3 separate regions of the Homo sapiens genome follow, and regions 2 and 3 are each linked to region 1. The links are contacts of gene promoters, found by promoter capture Hi-C in blood cells and fetal thymus (Javierre and others, 2016). All regions are on one chromosome and are shown on one strand. Each heading gives the region's core, a stretch centred on a gene start or on the middle of the fragment in contact. The rest is flanking DNA. Distances are from core to core; before and after follow the strand shown. Region 1 holds the start of NBAS (NBAS subunit of NRZ tethering complex). Region 2 holds the start of LPIN1 (lipin 1). Region 3 holds the start of TTC32 (tetratricopeptide repeat domain 32).

Region 1 (3,138 bases), core at 624-3,123:
ATTCTGGGGATATAGCAGGGATGGATATAGCATTTGCATGCATATAGATAGAGCACCTGGCATGGCTTACCTTTTAGTGAATGGAGACAGATAATAAGCAAATATACTGTATAGCCATTTAAGTGATGACAAGTGTAATGGAAAAAATAATAGAGCAGCTCTGGAAAGCTGGAGTTGGAGAATGGTCATTGCAAATTTAAAAATGAGCAGTCAAGGTAGGCTTCAGAGAGAGACGACATTTGAGCAAAAACTTGAAGGAGATAAGGGAGGAACCAGGTAAACATCTGGTAGAAAGCCTTCCAAGTGGAGGGGACAGGCTTTGCAGAACTCCTGAAGTTGATGTGTGTCTGGTGTGTTCAGAAATAGAGCCAGTGTGGCTGAAGGTAGTAGGGGGAGCAGGAAATGAGGTGTGAGATTTAGGGGAGCAGGCAGATGACGTAGGGCTTTGAGGTCATTAAACTTTGAGAGAAATGGGAGCTGGTTAGAGGCTTCCCAGCAGAGGCTTTTAATTGCATCACCGCCTAATGCATCTTGATGGATATCATGAATATAATTATCTCAAGGGATATTCAGTATTTGTGTTTCTTTTGATGTGAAACAGTGTAATACTTTGTACAGTATATATTCATTCATGTTACAGTAGGCTCTGCTTATAACTGTCCACAAAGAGGTATTTGTTGAATGAATGAATGAATGAACAAATGGGGTTGACCTTTTCGCTCCCTCCATGCGGGTTCTCAACCTATTATTTCAACTTTATTGCCCCTACACCCTTTCTCAACTTGGGTTCTATTCACCCGTCTTGTTGAGTACTAATTAGGAAAAAAAAAAAGGCAGGCTAGTGGGAGCAGGGAAAAACAAAGAGATAAGGCAAATTAGCTATACGTCTGTCTTTCTTCATGGTCCAAAACATATAAACAAAAGGAAGAAACAAATAAGCCATAGGTCTACTTTTCTTTATGGCCCAGGACATATGGCCCTTCTACCCAGATAACGTACTTAACTCACAAACTTCCTGCTTACCTTCAAATGCCTCAATTTCTGAAACACTTCAGCTGACAAAAAAAAAAAAAAAAAAAGAAAGAAAGAAAAAAAAAAAGCAAGTTAACTCCCTGCTACCTGGTGTTATCAATCACTCCAAGTTCCAGTCTATAAAATTCTCAACAAGCCTTTGTTTCCTAGCAATGAGCTCCTCCTCTGCTGAGTCGGCCCGCTGCTCCCTGGCAACGAACTTTCATACTTTCTTTAATCTGTCTTTCTTTATCTACCACTGTCTTGGTAAATTCTTTTACTCCCACACTGAGAAAGTCGTCACTCACTGGCGACACGTTGAAAGAGTTCTTTCAACTCTGTATTTCTGCCTCTGTCTCTGCTCATTCCATTTCCCGCTACTTGAAATGCTTCTCCAGTAGATTAAAATTCTGCCTATTGTTAAAGACGCAGGGACAAGCTCCACGTCCTCCAGGAAATCCCTGCAGACTCTGGCCTTCGTTGCCTTTTCTGAGCTCCTGTAGCATCCTTCCTCTGCTACCTTTCATTGGATAACTTTAGTTGTTTATTTTAAAACCACTGTTTGAACTCTCTCTACGTGTTAGGCAAAGAATATACAAATGAACATTAGCATTTCAGTGGGGTACCTTTACCATTTCTGTTTTATGGAAACTGAGTTATAAGAGAGGCTCAATGACTTGGCCGATCTCATGTAGATTAATGAACAAGGAGTGTATCAGGACCGGGACACAAGTCGTTCCCAAGACAAGCAATAGTCCCTGTCCTTCCTACTCATAAAAGGGTTAACCTAGCATTTCCTTGCCGTGAAACAAAAGCGGCCGCGGATAGAGAAGCTTGTCCTGTGAGGGATTCCGTAGAGACACTCCTCCGCTGCCTGAGTCCTCGGCGAACATGGCGGCCCCCGAGTCAGGGCCGGCTTTGAGTCCAGGCACTGCAGAGGGTGAGGAGGAGACGATTCTCTATGACTTGTTGGTCAACACCGAGTGGCCACCGGAGACTGAAGTACAGGTGAACCAGGCCCATCTACAGCAGCAGCCAGCTTGGCGCGGGCGCTTCGTGGGTAGAGCCACGTAGCAGGAGCCACGTAGGGGAGTGGAGACGGGTGGGTGGGGGACTAGGGCCGGTTGGCTTGTGCGGTCGCCTTGGCAACGGCACCTTGGGCTAGCGGGGGTCTAGGGCGGGGTGGGGTGGTGGTCCCTGAGATTCTTCCTGGGCTCAGAATTCGGTTGTTGGGGGCTGGAACTTCGTGCTCTGGGGAGCGTACGATCCCACTTTGGTTCTCAGTTTCGCTCTCTGTATTGGGAGGAGAGGGGATTGTTAGTGTCGCTCTCTGTATTAGGAGGGGAAGGCACAGCGCTGGACTCGAGGGTCCTTTCTCCTATCTGGACCCTCAGTGGTCCCTTCTCGCGGTCTGGCTAGGGCTAGTCTGGGCCGACGCTCAACTGCGATGGGAGAATTTTCCAGGACCTTACAGTCTGCAGCATCTGCCAGGCTGGTGCAGAGCGCAGAATCTGAGCCTTTACCCATACTGGGGGCTGGATCGCGCCAGGTCTTGTGTGTTTCAATAAAAGAGCATTTAATAAGGGTGTGCGTGTCCGTTCGTCTGTCTCGGTGTCACAGGTGCTGTGCTAGGTGCTAAGGATACAGAGATGAATATGTTTTCGTGGAGCTTCTCGTCTAGAGGGGAGACAGTCCCGTAAACGTTTTTCATAACCTAGCGTTTTATGCGCTATAGTTAGCGATGTGAGCAAAATGCCACGGAAGTGCAGAGTAAAGAGCTGCTGACTGGGATTGGGATCTCCGCTACAGAAGGGTTATAGAGGTTGATAATTTATGGACTGGATCTTGGGATTATCAGTTGTTTGGTAGTGAAGGCCTCCCGGGTCTGTGATGAAGAGTAGGAACCATGGATCCATGTTTATTTTATTTTATTTTTTATTATTATTATTTTTTGGATCCATGTTTATTTAACAGATATTTATTGAGTGCTTAACACGTGCCAGTTACTGTTTTAGACCCAGAGGAAGCAGCCAGATCGAAAAGAACCTTTATTAAAGATTATGTAGTCCAGCCCATGTGAGTTATCTTACATTTTTTCTGAGTGTTTCTTTGCTGGAGAAACGACTC
Region 2 (3,087 bases), core at 550-3,049, 3.8 Mb after region 1:
CTCAGAGGATTGAAGTCTTCTGCCCAAGTTCTACATCTGTGAGTGGTCAGAACAACAACTGCAAAGCCCAGTGCTCTGTGCCGGCCTCGGCGCATCTCAGACCACGGTGGCCTCAGGACCTTCTTCTGAAATATCTTTTCATCTCCTGACCCTCCCCTGCCGTCTGTTCTGGGCCCTTTGTGCAGCTGACCACGCAAAGAGCAGGAGAGCAGGACCCACAGACTTCCTTCTGGCTGGGCCAGGCCAATTGTCCCCACCTAATCCAGGGCAGGCTCCTTCTCAGTCACTTCCAAGGTCCCCCCTACAACCAGGAATCCCTGCGGTCTCTCACCTGAACCCTCGCGTTCTCTCCCACACCACAAGACTCAGCAGGTCCGCCCCTTGTCCCCCTGTGCTTTTCTAAAAGAAAGGAACTGCTGATAAGCGAGACCTGGGTGGGTGAAAGAACTCGCTCAGGGTCCCACAGAGCTCAGGCAGAGCCCAGACCTCCCGACCCGAGTCCAGGGCTATATCCAGGCCTGGCTCCACAGGACCACAGGGCCCCACATGCAAATAGGAATAATAAGCGCCAAAACACACAACCCATGCACAAAAACACTCAATAACAAATGCTGGCAAACGTGAAGTGCTATCAAAGTATATAATCATAAATCCAACTGTTACACCTTTCAACAAGAATCTGGGAGCAAGAAAAGTGTTCATGTGTGGATGTGCTTATTTCTCAAATACTATACATTCCTCAACTGCTTACTTTCATTAATAAGACCCAAATTACGGAACAAAGGATAAACAGTCAATCTCACAATCACTACCCCTAGACCACCATACCACAACACCCCCAATTAAAAAAACGGCTACAAGCTTTGATTTCCCAAAACACTTCTATCCTGTGGGAAACTGCCGGGTTCTAAAACATCTCCAAATTAATACTGCCAGTTGTCTTAGTTGGTTTCCTGCTTGCTGATCAAAAACAGGGTTGACATCTGCTTTCTCCAGCAACTACTGACCACACAAATTACCTACTCTAGCTCCACAGCACTTAAGTTACTCCCAAAACGTTACTTCTCATCCTGCATTTTCCTGGCCTTGCCCATAATAAAATTACGTGCAGGAGCAGCTGACGGAGCTCACTAGGCCTAGCACCTCCTAGGCTGCAAGAAAGGTGCAGAGGCCTCGCAGGGGAGAGCTGTAATATGAGAACCGGGATTCCAACCTGGGCTCAGCCTGCCCTGCCGCCCGGCAACTGTATGACCTTGGGCACAGAGGTCAACCTCCCTGAGCCTCAGTTTCCTCAACTGCAGCGCTGGAATCCTAACTCCGGGGGAAAGAAAGGCTCTCATCCCAGTCCCCGGCGCAAAGCTGGGGATGATCGCGCAGAGCCAGGACGCACCCGCGCTGGCCGGCTGGAGCTAGTCCCCGCGGTTCTGGGACTGCGCGGCAGCCCCCAGTGGCCCCTACGCCGCTCGAGATCAGCCAAGCCGGGCCCACACCGGGCCTCGCGGCGCGTCAGGAAAGCCAGGCCCGAGGGATGCTCGCGAGGCCCTCCCGGCCTCCGGGGCCTGTTTCCCCGCCTCCCTCCCCCGAACCACTTCCCGTAGAGGGCCCCGGGGACGTAGCCCGGCCGTCGGTCCTCGGGCCCCGGGGCCGAGCCCCCGCCTCGCCACGCGTCCTCAGCGCCCCGGCGCCGCGCCCCGCCCCGCCTAACCCGAGGCTGCGGCCCCTGCTCCACAGCGGGAGGCTGGAGGCGGCGGCTACTCACCGAGCGGCGCCGCGCGTGGCCGCCTTTGTATTGCAAACACCCAGCCCGCCGCCGGCTGTCAGCGCAGCTCGCCTTCGGGGGCGGGGCAGGGGCGGGGGCAGAGGGCAGGGGCGGGGCAAGCGGGGCGGTGCGAGGGGGACTCGGGACGCGCTGGTGGCCCGGCTGCTTTCAGGGCCTGCTGGCCGGCCCTGCCCGCTCACCCCTGGCCGCCTATCTTAGCGTTCCTGGGGGTGGGGCCCCTTAGGCCGCCTTTCTGATTTTCCTTTCCAGAGCCAAACTCGTGTGTTTCTTCAACACTCTGACTTGACCTATGCCGATGACTGGGGGAGTGAGGACGGAGGGGTGCAGAGAAAAGGCAGCCAGGTAAAAGTCCAGGTAAACCACCCAGGGCCTGGCCGCGATCACGTCGGTCCTATGGGTCCCGCTTATCACCAGTGGCGGGATCTGAGCCCGTCCTTGACTTTACTGACCCTCGCCCTTCGTTTCTTCCACCTTAAAGGCGCAATCGCGTTGACCTATCGCCATCTCTTCTTAGCTTCTCCACGCCGGGCCACCCCTGTCCTTCATCCTGATGGTGACAGCCTCCACTCCCGCCTCTGCCAAGCGGTGGTCCAGGTGCGGAACGGTGGCTCTGAACAGGAGGGACAGGCAGCTCCCTGCGCCTCTCCAGCCGGGAGGCAGGCAGCGGATAAACAATGAGCCACATAACGTCTGGTGGTGAAATGATTTCCATCAATGGGAGGGTGTCATATTTGAACTGAAACTCTAAATGACAAGAAACACCTATGACTACAAAGATGGGGAGGAGGCAGGGCTTTCTGGAGAGCAGAAATGGCAGGTGCAAAGGTCCTGGGGCCGGTGCTGTGGGCTGGAGGGAAGGCAGGGGCCAAATATTCAGGTCTTGTAGGCCAAGGCAAGGAGTTTAGGTATTATTTAAATGTTATTCCAAACCAATTCTTTTTGAGACAGGGTCCCACTCTGTCACCCAAGCTACAGTGCAGTGGCACAATCTCGGTTCACTGCAGCCTTCACCTTCTGGCCTCAGGCAATCCTCCTGCCTCAGCCTCTCAAGTAGCTGGGACCACAGGTGCATGCCACCACGCCCAGCTAATTTTTCAAACTATTTGTAGAGACCAGGTCTCCCTATGTTGCCCAGGCTGGTCTCAAACTGCTGGGCTCAAGCAGTCTTCCCACCTTGGCTTCCCAAAGTGCTGAGATTACAGGTGTGAACCACCACGCCTGGTCCAAAAAGAATTTTAAACCTGGGAATTATATGATCTAATTTACTTCTTTAAAAAGTCACCCCTCCACTCCATGGAAAATGGACT
Region 3 (2,810 bases), core at 306-2,805, 4.3 Mb before region 1:
CCCAGCTAATTTTTTGCATTTTTAGTAGAGACGGGGTTTTGCCATGTTGGCCAGGCTGTTATCAAACTCCTGTCCTCAGGTGATCTGCCCGCCTAGGCCTCCCAAAGTGCTGGGATTACAGGCATGAGCCACAGAGCCTGGCCATCTCCACTTTTTCTTATCCCCCAAAAGGATTAACATCCCTGGCTTTATGTAGAATAGTGTACGCTGCCACATCAGTGTTTGAGTCATTCCCCAGAGGAGAGGGGAATCCCCCCTCCATTTTTTTTTTTGCAACATCTTGTCTTCCCTTTGCTGTTGCTTCCCCCAACACACTTGGTTTTGTTCTATCCTGTACTTCAGATTTGTTTTTTGTTTTGTTTTTTTCATATTGAAAAGATGACATTGCTCCAAGAGGCAAAAATAAATGGGAACTGAAAAAAAAAAGCTTTTTATCTTATTTATTTAATCTTTTAATTCACCTGGAATGAATATTATGTCAATTGGGAGCTTAAATGCTTAAATGTATTTTTCCCCAAATGGTTAACTAATCCTCCCAATAGCACTCATTTGAATAATCTGTCCTTTCCCCATATATGTTACATGTCTTTTACAAAATACAGCCTATTTGAGGTATGTTTCTGGGCTTTTGTTCTATTGAGCTGTCCATTTGCTTACACCAGAAATGCCAGTTTATTTTTTTGTAGTCTTGCAATCTTTTAATTTCTACTAGTGCTTTTTAATTTAACCTTAATCCACTGTATTTGTATTTTTTTCAGTGGTGGTAAAAGGAAAAAATTAAAAATCTAATGAAAGCAGCCAAAAGCACACAATTTATGTCCTGTTAAGACTTCCGCATGTAAGTATCATGCTCCAAATATATTTTTCATCTTTACTTTTTATGACGGAAAGGGCTCAAGTACTTTGGGAAGCAAAACAGAATCGAGGGACGCCGAGAAGATACACAGCAGGCATGTAGGGTAGCGTGGTTGGCAACTGTTCTTACAAAATTTTAATTTGAATTATACGTAATGTACGTAATAAATTACTATTTGGATTTCCCTTTGGCATAAACAGCCAGGGAATATAACTAACATCAAAGATCCCAGACTCTCGACACAATATACTACTAATCGTAACACAATTCTAGAGGGTCAAAAAAGGTAGAGAAGTTTGGACCGTGGAACAGACCTGGTGGAATGTCGACACAAAGCGTTTCAGGGTAGACAAAGCCTACTCAGAACACCCTAAACGCGGAGTTTTGCTAAGTTGGGACGCTAAAAGGCAAGGGAATGACAGGACGTCCGCAGGCTAATTCGCCATTAAGAAACAGAACCGCGGCTTCTTCCACCTCCAGCGTCATCGGCCCCCAATTCGCTGTAACAAACGGATAGTGTCTCGCAGCATCAGACAACGGACTTGGAAATCAGTTTGCGACCACGCATCTGCGCCTTTTCTAGGAAAAGAGGAAGGCGGGTCCAACACTGGTAACGGCAGAAACATAGTTCACAAGGGCCACTGCAAACGCCCCGCCAGCAGCGGAACCGTTATCTCGCGAGACGACGGATCCCCATAAGGCACAAACCTAGCGCCAAGGTTGGCTGTCAAGGTAGATTCCAGGGTGTGGAAGTGGCTTTGTGGTGCCACCTCTAACCGCTCGGAGGTCAACCCCCATTCTACACCGAAAACTAGGCCTTGGCTGCTATGGAAGGACAGCGGCAAGAAAGCCACGCAACCCTAACACTCGCCCAGGCTCATTTCAACAATGGAGAGTACGCGGAGGCCGAGGCACTGTACTCCGCTTACATTCGCCGGTGCGCTTGCGCGGCCTCCAGCGACGAGAGTCCCGGGAGGTAACTATCGCGAGACCTGGGGCCGCGGCGACCCCGGGTGGAGGCGACGTTGGGGTTGTTTGGGCTCCTATCTTTGCCTCTGGAGCTCACGGTCGGCGCTTGTCATAACCCAGCACTAGGACTGAGCGGGCGGACGTTCGTCTTTCTAGAAAGGCCTAGGCGAGGCCTAGGACGAGGGCGGCGGAGAACGCGGGGAGAAGCCCACCCGTGAGGAGCCAGCTGCCGCGACGGTGCGGAGAGATTTCCGGGAACCAAGCCCTCTGCGCGATCCTCGGGCGCGGGCCGCCGCCTCTCACCCCGCCGTCTCTCCTTCCACGTTCCTCATTCGCACCCAGAGACTTAGGACAGATAGGAATTTTCCACTCGTGATTTTAGCTGGCGGGAAATCCGCGACCTGGGAAGGGAAGGGGTCACGGCTGCGTAGGGCCACAGTACCGCGACTCCCATCTCAGTGTCACGGCGCAGGCTCTTGGTGGTGTTTTTCACTTGTGAAAAACGTTTAAATATGTGGAAGAGAGCATAACGAACGTCTAGGTGTTTATCACTTGGCTTAAGCATTATCAGTTTACCTATTGTATTCATCCATGGATGTTTCAGAAGGAACCACCATGTCATCATCACATAGTTACTTAATATCAAGTCGTCAGTGTTGGAACCATTCTGATCGACTAATAAGGTGTTTTGTTCTTTGGTTCCCTTTTCGCAGTTAGTTCAAGTCAGGATACACATCAAGTCTTTTTAAGTCTCTTCTCCACCTTCCCCTCTTTATTTGTTGAGGAAACCGATTCTTGTGTCCTTTGAATTTCCGTGTTTTGGACTTGCTGACTGAATCTCTTCTGTCGTTTAATGTGGTCATCTGTCTCATATTGCTGTGAATTGGTGGTTAAACCTTGAGGTTTGATCCAATTGAATTCAGATTCAATATCATGGCAAGAATACTTTTTAGGTGGGTGTGTGTACTTTCACCAGGAAGCACAT

The links. The method cuts DNA at HindIII sites, captures the fragments that hold promoters and counts their contacts. A CHiCAGO score of 5 or more calls a contact.
Region 2: the fragment with the promoter of LPIN1 here is called in contact with the fragment with the promoter of NBAS in region 1 in 6 of 17 cell types (total CD8 T cells, naive CD8 T cells, erythroblasts and 3 more); the score reaches 8.4 in total CD8 T cells.
Region 3: the fragment with the promoter of TTC32 here is called in contact with the fragment with the promoter of NBAS in region 1 in 10 of 17 cell types (naive CD4 T cells, naive CD8 T cells, non-activated CD4 T cells and 7 more); the score reaches 17.1 in naive CD4 T cells.

What each region holds. Positions count from the first base shown.
Region 1 is chr2:15,560,069-15,563,206 of GRCh38, reverse strand. It overlaps NBAS (NBAS subunit of NRZ tethering complex), which reads left to right and starts at 1,873. Exons shown (of 52, transcript NM_015909.4): 1 at 1,873-2,019. The coding sequence starts at 1,903. It overlaps LOC105373440 (a long non-coding RNA gene), which reads right to left and starts at 1,059. Exons shown (of 4, transcript XR_001739297.2): 1 at 1,024-1,059. RefSeq lists an enhancer at 1,674-2,083. The HindIII fragment of the contact is 4,253 bases long and covers 1,847-3,138 here.
Region 2 is chr2:11,745,344-11,748,430 of GRCh38, reverse strand. It overlaps LPIN1 (lipin 1), which reads right to left and starts at 1,799. Exons shown (of 21, transcript NM_001349206.2): 1 at 1,760-1,799. LOC124907735 (a long non-coding RNA gene) reads left to right here and starts at 2,972. Exons shown (of 2, transcript XR_007086220.1): 1 at 2,972-3,087. RefSeq lists enhancers at 1-547, 3,059-3,087 and a silencer at 1,551-2,120. The HindIII fragment of the contact is 2,521 bases long and covers 864-3,087 here.
Region 3 is chr2:19,900,728-19,903,537 of GRCh38, reverse strand. TTC32 (tetratricopeptide repeat domain 32) reads left to right here and starts at 1,555. Exons shown (of 3, transcript NM_001008237.3): 1 at 1,555-1,832. The coding sequence starts at 1,684. RefSeq lists enhancers at 1,203-1,442, 832-1,712, 1,893-1,992, 2,073-2,132, 2,273-2,462 and 1 more. The HindIII fragment of the contact is 3,134 bases long and covers 430-2,810 here.